Regions from separate parts of the Homo sapiens genome. Here all the other regions are linked to region 3. Evidence: promoter capture Hi-C in 16 types of primary human blood cells and fetal thymus (Javierre and others, 2016). All regions are on one chromosome and are shown on one strand. Each heading gives the region's core, a stretch centred on a gene start or on the middle of the fragment in contact. The rest is flanking DNA. Distances are from core to core; before and after follow the strand shown. Region 1 overlaps TM4SF18-AS1 (TM4SF18 antisense RNA 1). Region 2 overlaps LINC02046 (long intergenic non-protein coding RNA 2046). Region 3 holds the start of CPA3 (carboxypeptidase A3).

Evidence for each region. Contacts are between HindIII fragments. The CHiCAGO score rates a contact against its expected background, and 5 or more counts as called.
Region 1: a fragment that was not itself captured here is called in contact with the fragment with the promoter of CPA3 in region 3 in 1 of 17 cell types (total CD4 T cells); the score reaches 5.5 in total CD4 T cells.
Region 2: a contact is called between a fragment that was not itself captured here and the fragment with the promoter of CPA3 in region 3, in 1 of 17 cell types (endothelial precursors). The highest score is 5.4, in endothelial precursors.

The regions. Positions count from the first base shown.
Region 1 is chr3:149,291,452-149,294,717 of GRCh38, reverse strand. The region is part of intron 1 of TM4SF18-AS1 (TM4SF18 antisense RNA 1); the gene reads right to left. Among named protein-coding and RNA genes, the nearest start is that of TM4SF18-AS1, 8.3 kb to the right of the region's middle. The HindIII fragment of the contact is 1,034 bases long and covers 1,292-2,325 here.
Region 2 is chr3:148,382,026-148,385,730 of GRCh38, reverse strand. All of the region lies in intron 4 of LINC02046 (long intergenic non-protein coding RNA 2046), which reads right to left. LOC105374147 (a long non-coding RNA gene) reads left to right here. Exons shown (of 4, transcript XR_924566.2): 4 at 862-1,889. Among named protein-coding and RNA genes, the nearest start is that of LINC02046, 100 kb to the right of the region's middle. The HindIII fragment of the contact is 3,753 bases long and covers 1-3,705 here.
Region 3 is chr3:148,863,563-148,867,176 of GRCh38, reverse strand. CPA3 (carboxypeptidase A3) reads right to left here and starts at 1,881. Exons shown (of 11, transcript NM_001870.4): 1 at 1,802-1,881; 2 at 1,629-1,704. The coding sequence starts at 1,869. The HindIII fragment of the contact is 2,592 bases long and covers 1,416-3,614 here.

The sequences.
Region 1 (3,266 bases), core at 559-3,058, 430 kb before region 3:
AAAAAACAAGTTTTATAAGGTTAAGTGTGCATGGATTAAACATGTGTATTATACAAGGAAAGAATCTAGTGCCAAAGATTACAGAAATAAGAAGTAAGATATACTATTTATTCTGAAAACACTATTGTGCCCCATAGTATGGAACAGAACAAGGGTAAGAACAGCAGGCATAGACAAGACTGTAAGGAGGATATCCATGGAAGGTTAGTTATTGCCATTTATCTTTTGTGATTTTTAGCTTGAGGCCCCCGATCTCTTCACATTGGTACTTTGAGTGCCCTCCTGGGTCAACAGAGGTGACTCCACTGGCTTCCCAGGCCTTTACTCGGGTGCAATGAATCCAAGAGTCTATTCCAGTGACCTTCACTGCCGTAGGAGTAGAAAGAAGTACAATGTAGAGTCCCTCCTAACCTGGGCCTATAGAAGGAGAAAGGGACGGAAGTACCTTTACTAGCACTAGGTCCCCTGGGTTGCATAGAGGTGGCCCTGGTACACAGAACTGGGCCTCCGACAGTTGTTTCAGTTCCTATTGGAAATGGACCAAATATATTATGTGCCTAATTAAATCAGAGGTTACTTGGTCTAACAAGAAATCATTGGTGAGAAAAGACCAACCATACATCATTTCAAAGGGACTGAAACTTAGCTTTGAAGGAGTATTTCTAATACTTAACAGGGGCTATGGGGAAAAGGGTAGGCCAGGGGAGATGAGTCTCCTGAGACAGTTTCCCGAGGTACCTTTTGATAATATCATTTGTCTTTTCTATCTTTCCTGAGGATTGTGGTCTCCAGGCACAATGAAGATGGTACTGTATACCTAGTGCTTTTGAGACCCCCCTGAGTGACAGCTGCCTTGAATGAGGGGCTATCATTGCTCTGGAGGTATTTAGGAAGTCCAAAACAAGGAATTATCTCACTGATCAGTAATTTTATTACCTCAGAGGCTTTCTTTGTCTGACATGGAAATGTTTCTACCCAGTTAGTGAAAGTATCTATTCATAATAGGAGGTACTGCATGTACCTTTCCTTTGGCATATGGGTGAATCCATTTGCCAGTTTTCCCCTGGGTAGCCTCCTATCCTTTGGGTTCCTGGGAGAATAAGCTGTCAATTAAGGGGATTGTTTTCAAGGCAGGTCTTGCAAGTATTAATGACCTGTTGAACCATTTGTATCAGGTTTTTACCTGAGAATAATCTCTGGGCCAGTTGATAGGTTTTATCCTTACCTAGGTGGAAGGCCTGGTGAAGGCTTTTAAGAACTTTCCATGGGTTGGCAGCTGGTGGATGAAGCTTACTATCCTCTGATTATAGCCATCCTGAGGACTGCAGGATGTATCCCTAAGAGGTGGCCCATTCTATTTCCACAAGAGAATATTGAGGTTTTATTTCTATCACGGGGCACTCCCAGATCAGTGGGACTTCAAATGGGTCAGAGACCTGGGGCCCACTTGCTGCTGATTAAACTGCTTGGTCTGCCAGCCTATTTCCCTCAACTATTTCATCTGTCCCTCTTTGGCAGTCTTTACAATGTATTATTGCCACTTCCTGTGGGAGGAAAACTGAGGATAATAGTCTATTAATTTTCTGATTATATTTAATAGGAGACCCATTAGCTATGAGGAAGTTCCTCTTTCCAGATAGTGGTATGGGCATCGAGGACCAGGAAAGCATACTTAGAATCAATATAAAAGTTAACGTTTTTCCTTTGCTTAATTCGAGCACCCTCGTGAGGGTGATTAGTTCAACTAGCTGACCATTTGTGCCCAAGGAGAGAGGTGCACTCTCAACAACATCATTCAGAGTAACTATTGCATACCCTGCTCTGTGAGTTCCTTTTTCTACAAAAAAAACTTCCGTCCATAAACGGAATCCAGTCTGGGTTATCTAAGGGGGTTTCCTTGAGGTTCTCTCTGGCTGCATAGGTTTGTACTACTATTTGCTAGCAGTCATGTTCAAGTTCCCTGGATTCCTCTTGGAGGAAGGTGGCTGGATTTAGGGACAGGTTCTTAATTAGAAGGACTGCAGAACTTTCTAATAACAGAGCTTGGTATCTGAGGAGGTGGTTTTCTGTTAGCCAGAGACTCCCCTTAGAAGACAGTAGTCCTGCCACATTATGTGGGATATAAACGGTTAAGTTATTCCCCGTGGTTAACTTATTAGCCTCTGGTACCAGCAAGGCTATTGCTGTGAATGCCCAGAGTCAGGCTAGCCATCATGTGGCTACCAAATCAAGCTCCTTACTCAGGTAGCCTACATGCTGCTGGGCTGAACTCCAGGTCTGTGTTAGAACTCCCAGTGCCATTACTTTTCTCTGATACATAAAGCTTAAATGTTTTCCCTATGGGGAGACTTAGGGCTGGTGCCTTAAGCAAGGCTTGTTTTAGTTGGTCAAAGGCCTTTTTAGCCTCTGGTTCCCAAATTAGACAGTGAGATTTAGCTGTCTGAGTCTCCTTTATTAGGTGAAATAGGGACAAGCTATTTCACTGTACCCAGGTATCCATGGTCTGCAGAATCCTGTAATGTGTAAGAATTCCCTCAGTTTCTTGAGGGTTTTAGGGAAGGGAAAGGAGGAGATGGGCTTAATCCTCTCTTTGTCCAATGCCCTGGCCCTCTCTGACAAAGCCAGACCTAGGTATTTCACTGAAGTCTGAGATACCTGAGCATTAGATTTTGAAACCTTATATCCTCTGTTAGTCAGAAAGTTAAGAAGGGCCTTACTGCCCTCCTAAGAGATTTCCTCAGTTGGAGCGCAGAGAAGGTCATCCATGTATTGTAAAACTTTAACCTGAGGATAAAGGAATTCAGAGAGGTCTCTCAATAATGCCTGGCCAAACAAGGTGGGGCTGTCTCGGAACCCCTGAGGTAACAGTGTTCTGGGTGGTTTGGTTAGAGGGATCCTTAAATGCAAACAAACACTAGGAGTCAGTGTGTAAAGGTGTGCAGAAGAAGGTATCCTTTAGTTCCAGAACTGTGAACCATTTAGTCCCCTCAGGTATTTGAATTAGTGGGGTATATGGATTGGTAACCACTGGATGTATTGGAACCACAGCCTCATTAACAAGGTGGAGGTCCTGAACTAGTCTTCATCCTTGTTGGGTTTTTGTACCCCCAATATTGGGGTATTACAAGAGCTGTTGCAGGGTTTGAGGAGGCTCTACATCTTCAAGTCATCAATGATGGCTTCTAGTCCTTTCCTAACTTCTGGTTTCAGGGAATATTGTTTCTGGTTAGGAAAGGAGGTGGGATCTTTAAGATGAACCCAGACCA
Region 2 (3,705 bases), core at 614-3,113, 480 kb after region 3:
TTAACACAGGTATCTCAAATTATTTCTAAAAGACTCTCTGTATTGAATTACCTCCTCTAGATTCAATATCCCCCACAGAAGCATCTGATTGGCCATCCTTAGGGCATTTGACTCCAATGTACTTGCTATACTAGGTTGGAGAGAGAAAATGGCATGTCTTATTTGGCTTCCTGAGTGGGAGGCAGCATGGAATTCTCTCATATTAGAAAGGATATTTATTTTTTCGGCAGCCTGAACAATTATTCTCTACTAAGAAGTTTATATTTCTTTTCATTTGAAAACCTTTTGTAAATCAAATAAGGAAAAAATAACCAAATAGGGAAAAAAAGAGCAAACAGCACAAAAATGTAATGTAGAAGTAGAAATACAATGACTAATAAGCCTATCACATGTCTAACTTTTCTAGTAATCAAATAGTGCAAATTATTGAAACAATTAAAATAAGAAAAAAATTGATTAGCCAAAAGTATTAAAGTTTTGAAATAGCCAGTGAAGTTAGTGAAGATAAGAGGAAATGGATACTTTGATACAGTGTTGGTGGAAATATAAGTTGATTGAATCATCTCAACTATATTTGTACCAGTACATTAGCTTCATAAAAGCTGCCATTCTTTTCTGTTTTGATTATTGCCATATTCAAAAAGACTACAATAGTGCCTGAGAAACATTGCAAATTCTTAATAAATGCTTGTTCAGTAAATTAATATCAACATTTAAAATCTAATGGTCTTTTGCTATATAATTCCACTCCTAAAAGTTTACCCAAAGGATGTAAACATGTGTCTTAGTCTGTTTTGTGCTATTATAACAGACTGTCACAAACTGGGTAGTTTATAAAAAACAAAAATTCATTTCTCACAGTTCTGGATGCTGGGAAGTGTAAGATCAAGATGGTGGCAGGTTCGACTGGTGAGAGTTGCATTCTCCAGATGGAAGAAACATTGTGTCCTCATCTGGTGGAAGGTGGAAGGGTAAGCTACCAAGCACTCTGCAAAGATCCTTTAAAAGGGTCTTAATCCCATTCATGAGGGACGAACCCTCATGACCTAATCACCTCTTACAGACTCTACCTCTTAATACTTTCACATTGGCAACACCTGATTTTGGAGGTAATATATTCAAACCCATAGCAACAAGTATGCAAAATAGAAATCAAGTATATACAGATTTTACTTTGTCTATTAAAGTGTGAGAAAAACAATATGAATGCTCAACAATCAGTTACTGGTTAACTATATTATGGTCTCTACAAGTAGTGAAATATTATATAGTTTTAAAAATATATATCTATATTTTTTAACATGAAATAATGTCCATGACACATTACTGAGTGCAAGAAAAGCAGTTTGCAAATGTTCCATTAGATCTGATTTTTATTTTTTCAAAAGGAAGTTACTATAGGTGCATACTTATCTAGACAGAGCCTGCTAATTATATACATCAAAATAGTAAGAGTGGAATATCCTCTACCCCTTTTTTTCTTTTCCCCTCCTGAATAATTCAGTCCAAAACCCATTAGGCAGGGTGTCTATAAAGGTAAGGAAATGACACCAGACAGTAGTTGCAATCCCTCCACAATTCTCACTTCCAAAGCAAACAAAACAAAACAAAACAAACAACAACATTCTTGACTAGTACTTCTTATTTTTCCAGGCTTATTTATCCTGGTTCCCTGATCCTCAAAATTTTTGTGATGTATAATCCAGTGATTGTTCTGCCTGACATCTCTGCCTCTCCCAAATATTCTTCTTTCCTTTCTTATTAGCCTAAATTCCATCACTTTCTAACATACACCCTCAGCTTCCTCTTCTCTCCCTTTCTAAGCAATCATTCTGTTTTCTTGGGAAATACTAGCAAAAAGCAATCCCTACGTTGGTAAGTTATGTCAGGTAATGGTAACAGCTATGGAGAAAAATAAAGTGTGGATGTAATTTTATATAGCATTTATTGTGGCACTATTGATAATAGCAAAGACTTGGAACCAACCCAAATGCTCATTAATAATAGATTGGATAAAGAAAACATGGCACATATACACCATGGAATACTATGCAGCCATAAAAAAGAATGAGTTCATGTCTTTTGCAGGGACGTGGATGAAGCTGGAAACCATCATTCTCAGCAAACTATTACAAGAACAGAAAACCAAGCACCACATCTTCTCACTTATAAGTGGGAGTTGAACAATGAGAACACATGGACATAGGGAGGGGAACATCACACACCGGGGCCTGTCAGATGGTGGGGAGCTGGGGGAGGGATAACATTAGGAGAAATACCTAGTGTAGATGACAGGTTGATGGGTGCAGCAAACCACCATGGCACGTGTATACCTATGGAACAAAACTGCACGTTTTGCACATGTACCGCAGAACTTAATAACAATAAGAAGAAGAACAGTACTGTGGCTGGAGCAGGATACTGTTGTGGGGGATGGGGAGTGAAGCAATAGTAAAAGATGATCTCAGAGAATTACAGGTGGCCAGACATATAGGGCCTTAAGTTACTACCTAAAATCCTAACCTCTCTTAACATTTTGACATATTTTCTTCTAGTTTTGTTACTTATCTAAACGTTTCATATAGTTGATATTATATCACCTATCTTATTTTCTTGCACTAAGCCTTTTTTATAACATTACCCCTTCAGCAATTTTTCCAATGGCACAACACTTCCAACATATTTTAAATTACTGCATAATATATTATCATGTATACATACGCAATGTCATTACTACGTACTGGTCATTGAAATTATTCACAGGCAGAAAGAAGATAAGGAGTAACAGTCTAATGATTCTGCAACTCAGCATCAGGCATCCTTATTTCGACTCTCTCCTGACTCTGTAGAACAGTTCTTGCCTCATTTGCAAGACTGCGTACACCTTCCCTATTCCTTTTTTCTTTCTTTTTAAAGAAAAATCTAGCCCATTACAGCACCCATATCTTGATAAGGTTCTTGTTTTCTTGTTTCTGGGGCTGAAAACTCTGCAGTTCTTGGATGCAGTTTCTATAAAAATAAATCACTCATTTCTCTAGACTTATTTCTTAGACAAAATAAAGATGTTACATGGACTTGTTATATATTAATACAGTATTACACAAGTCTATGATAAAAAGTATATTACCACATAGCCAACTTTCAATTTTTCTATTATGAAGTGCCAATATGATGTTTGGAGTAAAACAAGAAAGATGCATGGCTTTTGTAACTTACAAATAATTTAACTCACCTAAACAATGAGAGAAATATGCTATATTGAGGACCTTATTAGTTCATTATGATTCAAGAATTTTTAAAACAATGCCTGGGTCCTTTGCACCACACAGCTGGAATATGGCTGGAGGTGCTCTGAATCATGGAGAATCCAGAAAGAGAAGTATAGAATAAAGATTGATAAGGAATACACCAAGCAGATGTTTTATTTCTTCCTTTTGGGGATAATTCTAGAGATTATCACAATATAGTCTGTGGGAGGTGGAGAGAGAACAGGTAACTGGGATAACCCTGAAGTAGCTGGGAAACTCCATGTCTTTAGCACAAAGTTCTGTCAATAAAACCAAACACTGGCTTTCAGTTATAAAGACCCTGCTAGGTCAGCATCTTCCGCACTGCCTTATTGAATTGGGATTTAGTAACATAACTTGGATCTTAATCCCAAAAGTGATCAAAAGATCTGCATCATCATATCAGCCTTTACTAAGT
Region 3 (3,614 bases), core at 632-3,131:
GTGTTTATGGGGCTTGAAGGGTGTGGAAGAAGGTGGAGGAGCAGGATATTGAAGAGGCTGGTAGTTTGGCAGATCATAAAACGCTTTGAATGCTATACCAATACCAAAAGAAAATGCTTCTGACTGGGCATGGTGGCTCATGCCTGTAATCCCAGCATTTTGGGAGGCTGAGGCGGGTGGATCACTTGAGGTCAGGAGTTTGAGACCAGCTGGGCAACATGGCAAAACCCCGTCTTCACTAAAAACACAAAAATTAGCCGGGGATGGTGGTGGGCACCTGTAATCCCAGCTAATAGGGAGGCTGAGGCAGGTGAATCGCTTGAACCTGGGAGTCGGAGGCTGCAGAGATTGTGCCACTGCACTCCAGCCTGGGTGACAGAGTGAGACTCTGTCTCAAAACAAAAACAATAACAAACAAAAAACGCTTCTATGGTGCTTAATATGGCAGGCCTGCTTCTAAGTGCTATCAAACGCTTACTTAGTCTTTGTAGCAACCCTAGGAAGTAGCTATGACTATTATCCCCATTTTATAGCAGAAGAAATTGAGACCCAGAGATGTTGAGTAAGTTGCCTAAGGCTACAGAGCTAGCGTAGAGCTTGGATTTGAATGTAAGCGTTTGACTTTGAAGAAAATGCTTTTTCCGTACTAGGCTGCTTCTTAGTAATGACCCTCAAACGGAGGAATGCAATTGTCAAGTTTTAGAGTGAGCAATCAGGTTGCAATGCAGAGTTGGCTTTGTGGGAGTCAAGACTAGAGCCCTGATTGCTAGTTAAGGGACTATGGAAATTCTCCTTGCAAGAGGTAGAGTGAACATGAACTTGGCAGTGGCAGTGGAATGGAGGGCAATGTGTGGATTTGAGAAACATTTGGGAGTTAGAATAGGCAGGGCCTTTGATTGATTTGATGTAGAGGTAACTGTATGTTTGACTGGAATAAATCCCAGACCCAGTTCTGGGTTTAAATTTGATGTGTAATCTTGGTCATTTAATTTATTGTCTTTGCACTTTAGCTCTTCTGTTTCAAATGAGTTACATTATAACCCTGACATTGAGAATCTGCTGGAGAATTTGAAATGGCATATATAAGGTGGCTGGTGCAACATAAATAGGAGCAGCTGAATACATGATAAAATTATATTAGGCTGTTGGATTTTAAAGGATTGATCTAACTTTAAAAGTCTTATTTGAAAATGTACCTGCTCTTGGAAAGGGTCACATCTTGATATTAGCCAGTGCCTCAACGTTTTCAGTTAGTACTCAAGAGAAATTATGGCACCAGAGGAGATGAGGGTCGGAGTGGGGAGAATGGAGAGGGAATGGCACCCGTAGGCAAGAGAAAGATGCCCTGATAAGGAGGCCAAGAACAGCTCCTGATTTCATAGTTTTACCTTGAAAAAGCTGGTGTTTGAAAAGCTTTTGGGAGGAAAAACAGAAGTGGTAGTCTTGGAAACCAAGACCAAAACCAGAACAGGTGAAGTATTGGCCATTGGCTGAATTATCCAGATAGCTCCTGCTTTCCCCTTATGTTCAATAGTCTTTTGTAGTCCCATGGGCATTGACAGTAAAATAAGAAGAAGCATCTTTTAGAGAACAGTAAGAAAAGATAAAATATCCCTCTAAATGCTTACCTCATTGGTTTTGGCCAAGTCCTTTATGATGTCTGCTTGTTTTTCATCCTGGGGCTTCACGCGGAACACCTTCTCCCTTTGTGGAGGCAAATGAAAAAAAAAAAGTGAACTGTAAGGAAACAACCTTTAATTCTCTTCTACACAGAGACTGGAACACAGGAAGTAAGATTTACCTGTCAAAGCGGACAGGAGCAATTGCAAGAGTGGTAGCAATCAAACCCACAGGCAGGATGAGCCTCATGGTTCTTCTTTGCCTGCCTTGAGACCCTCTGGCAGTTTTATGCCTCAGCCCTTATCTTGATGAGCAGCTGATTTCCTCTTAGGGTTCTGTTGCACAAACTGTTCCCCTTCTTCCCCCACACCAGGTTTTTTTTTTCCAGCTGGAGAGGGAAAAACACTAACCCACCAAGCACATGCTACTTATCTACCTTTTGCAATAGGAAATACCCATTTTACAGATACAGGATGGGAAGCAAATGCCTTTAGCAAATAACTTGGCCAAGGTAACAGAGAAAGTATGTTCACAGAGCTGGGATTTACTAGTTCTATCTGTTCTAAAATACTACTCTACCATTCTGCTTGAATTGAATGATGGAAGAAATTAGTTTTAAAATTTGCACTTGGAGACTGAGATGAATTTGGGTATCTGGCCATAAAATCTTGGTGAGTGGTTCGTAATAATGTAAAATATATTTTTGAAGCTAGAATGTAAGTTGTGAAATTAAAAACATTTAAATTGACTGGGCACGGTGGCTCACGCCTGTAATCCCAGCAGTTTGGGAGGCCGCGGCGGGTGGATCATCTGAGGTCAGGAGTTCAAGACCAGCCTGGCCAACGTGGTGAAACCCTGTCTCTACTAAAAAATACAAAAATTAGCCGGGCGTGGCGGCAGGTGCCTTAATCCCAGCTACTTGGGAGGCAAAAAAAACCCCAAAAATTTAAATTACAAAATATAAATGTACTAAAAATGCTGTAAGTACTATGGCGAACATTGAAATGTTCACCATTTAGATTTTACAATGATAACATTTTTGTTATATTTTTCCTGTACTTCTCTGGGTAAAGAAATAAACACTAAAGACCTAAAGCACTGCCCTAACTCTTTGCCCTTCTCTTCTCTCTGTCCTCAGAGGTGACCCCTATTTCTAAGGCAACTTGAGAACTACCTGACAGCAAGAAAATATCAATGCTGTAATGTTTATTAATTGGACACTGTCTTCAGAGCCTGGATGCTGTAATTGCCAAATAATGCCTTTTGAGAGTTGAATTAATGAAAGCCACCTATAGACCATTCACAACCATCTCTGGAGGGATGTTTAGTCTTGAACACAACTTGGTTAATTATGGGAGAATAACACCTTTACCTAGAATCATAGGTAACCTAAAAGAGTAAGTGAATTTATCTAATCAGTTAACTTATTAGAATTTCCTTTTTGAAAACCACCTCTTCACATTGACAAACGTATAGCTGACTGTAGATAAAACTTCTCAGAGTCACGCTTATGTACTATCAAAATAGTGTGGTTGGAGACACGCCCCTGTTATATATACAGCAGCAGTAATTCCATTCTTCTCTATCTGATGGGTGTGTGGTAGAACTCGGGACTTTTTTTTATTTCCCCAAATGGATTTTCCGGCTCCAGCCTTGCAGGTAAGGAAGAGGAGGGTTTTACAAATGCCTTCATGTTCTTGACACTGGGCAAGCTCACCAGCACTGAGAACTCCCAAAGCAAATGCTTGCTCCATTGCTTTTGACTAAAGATACTTTTGACCAGGGAACAGTGAAAAAGAAAGACCTTGACTTTGGGTTTCGACAGACATCACTTCAATGTGGCTCCCACACGCTAGCTACATCCCCTTGAGCAGGCTGCCTAGTTATTCTGGGCCTTGGTTTCCTCATTTGTAAAATGGGAATGCTAATGTGACTCTAACAAGTGGCTGTGAGGCTTAGTGAGACAGGATATGTTAGGGACTTCGTGGTAGGTG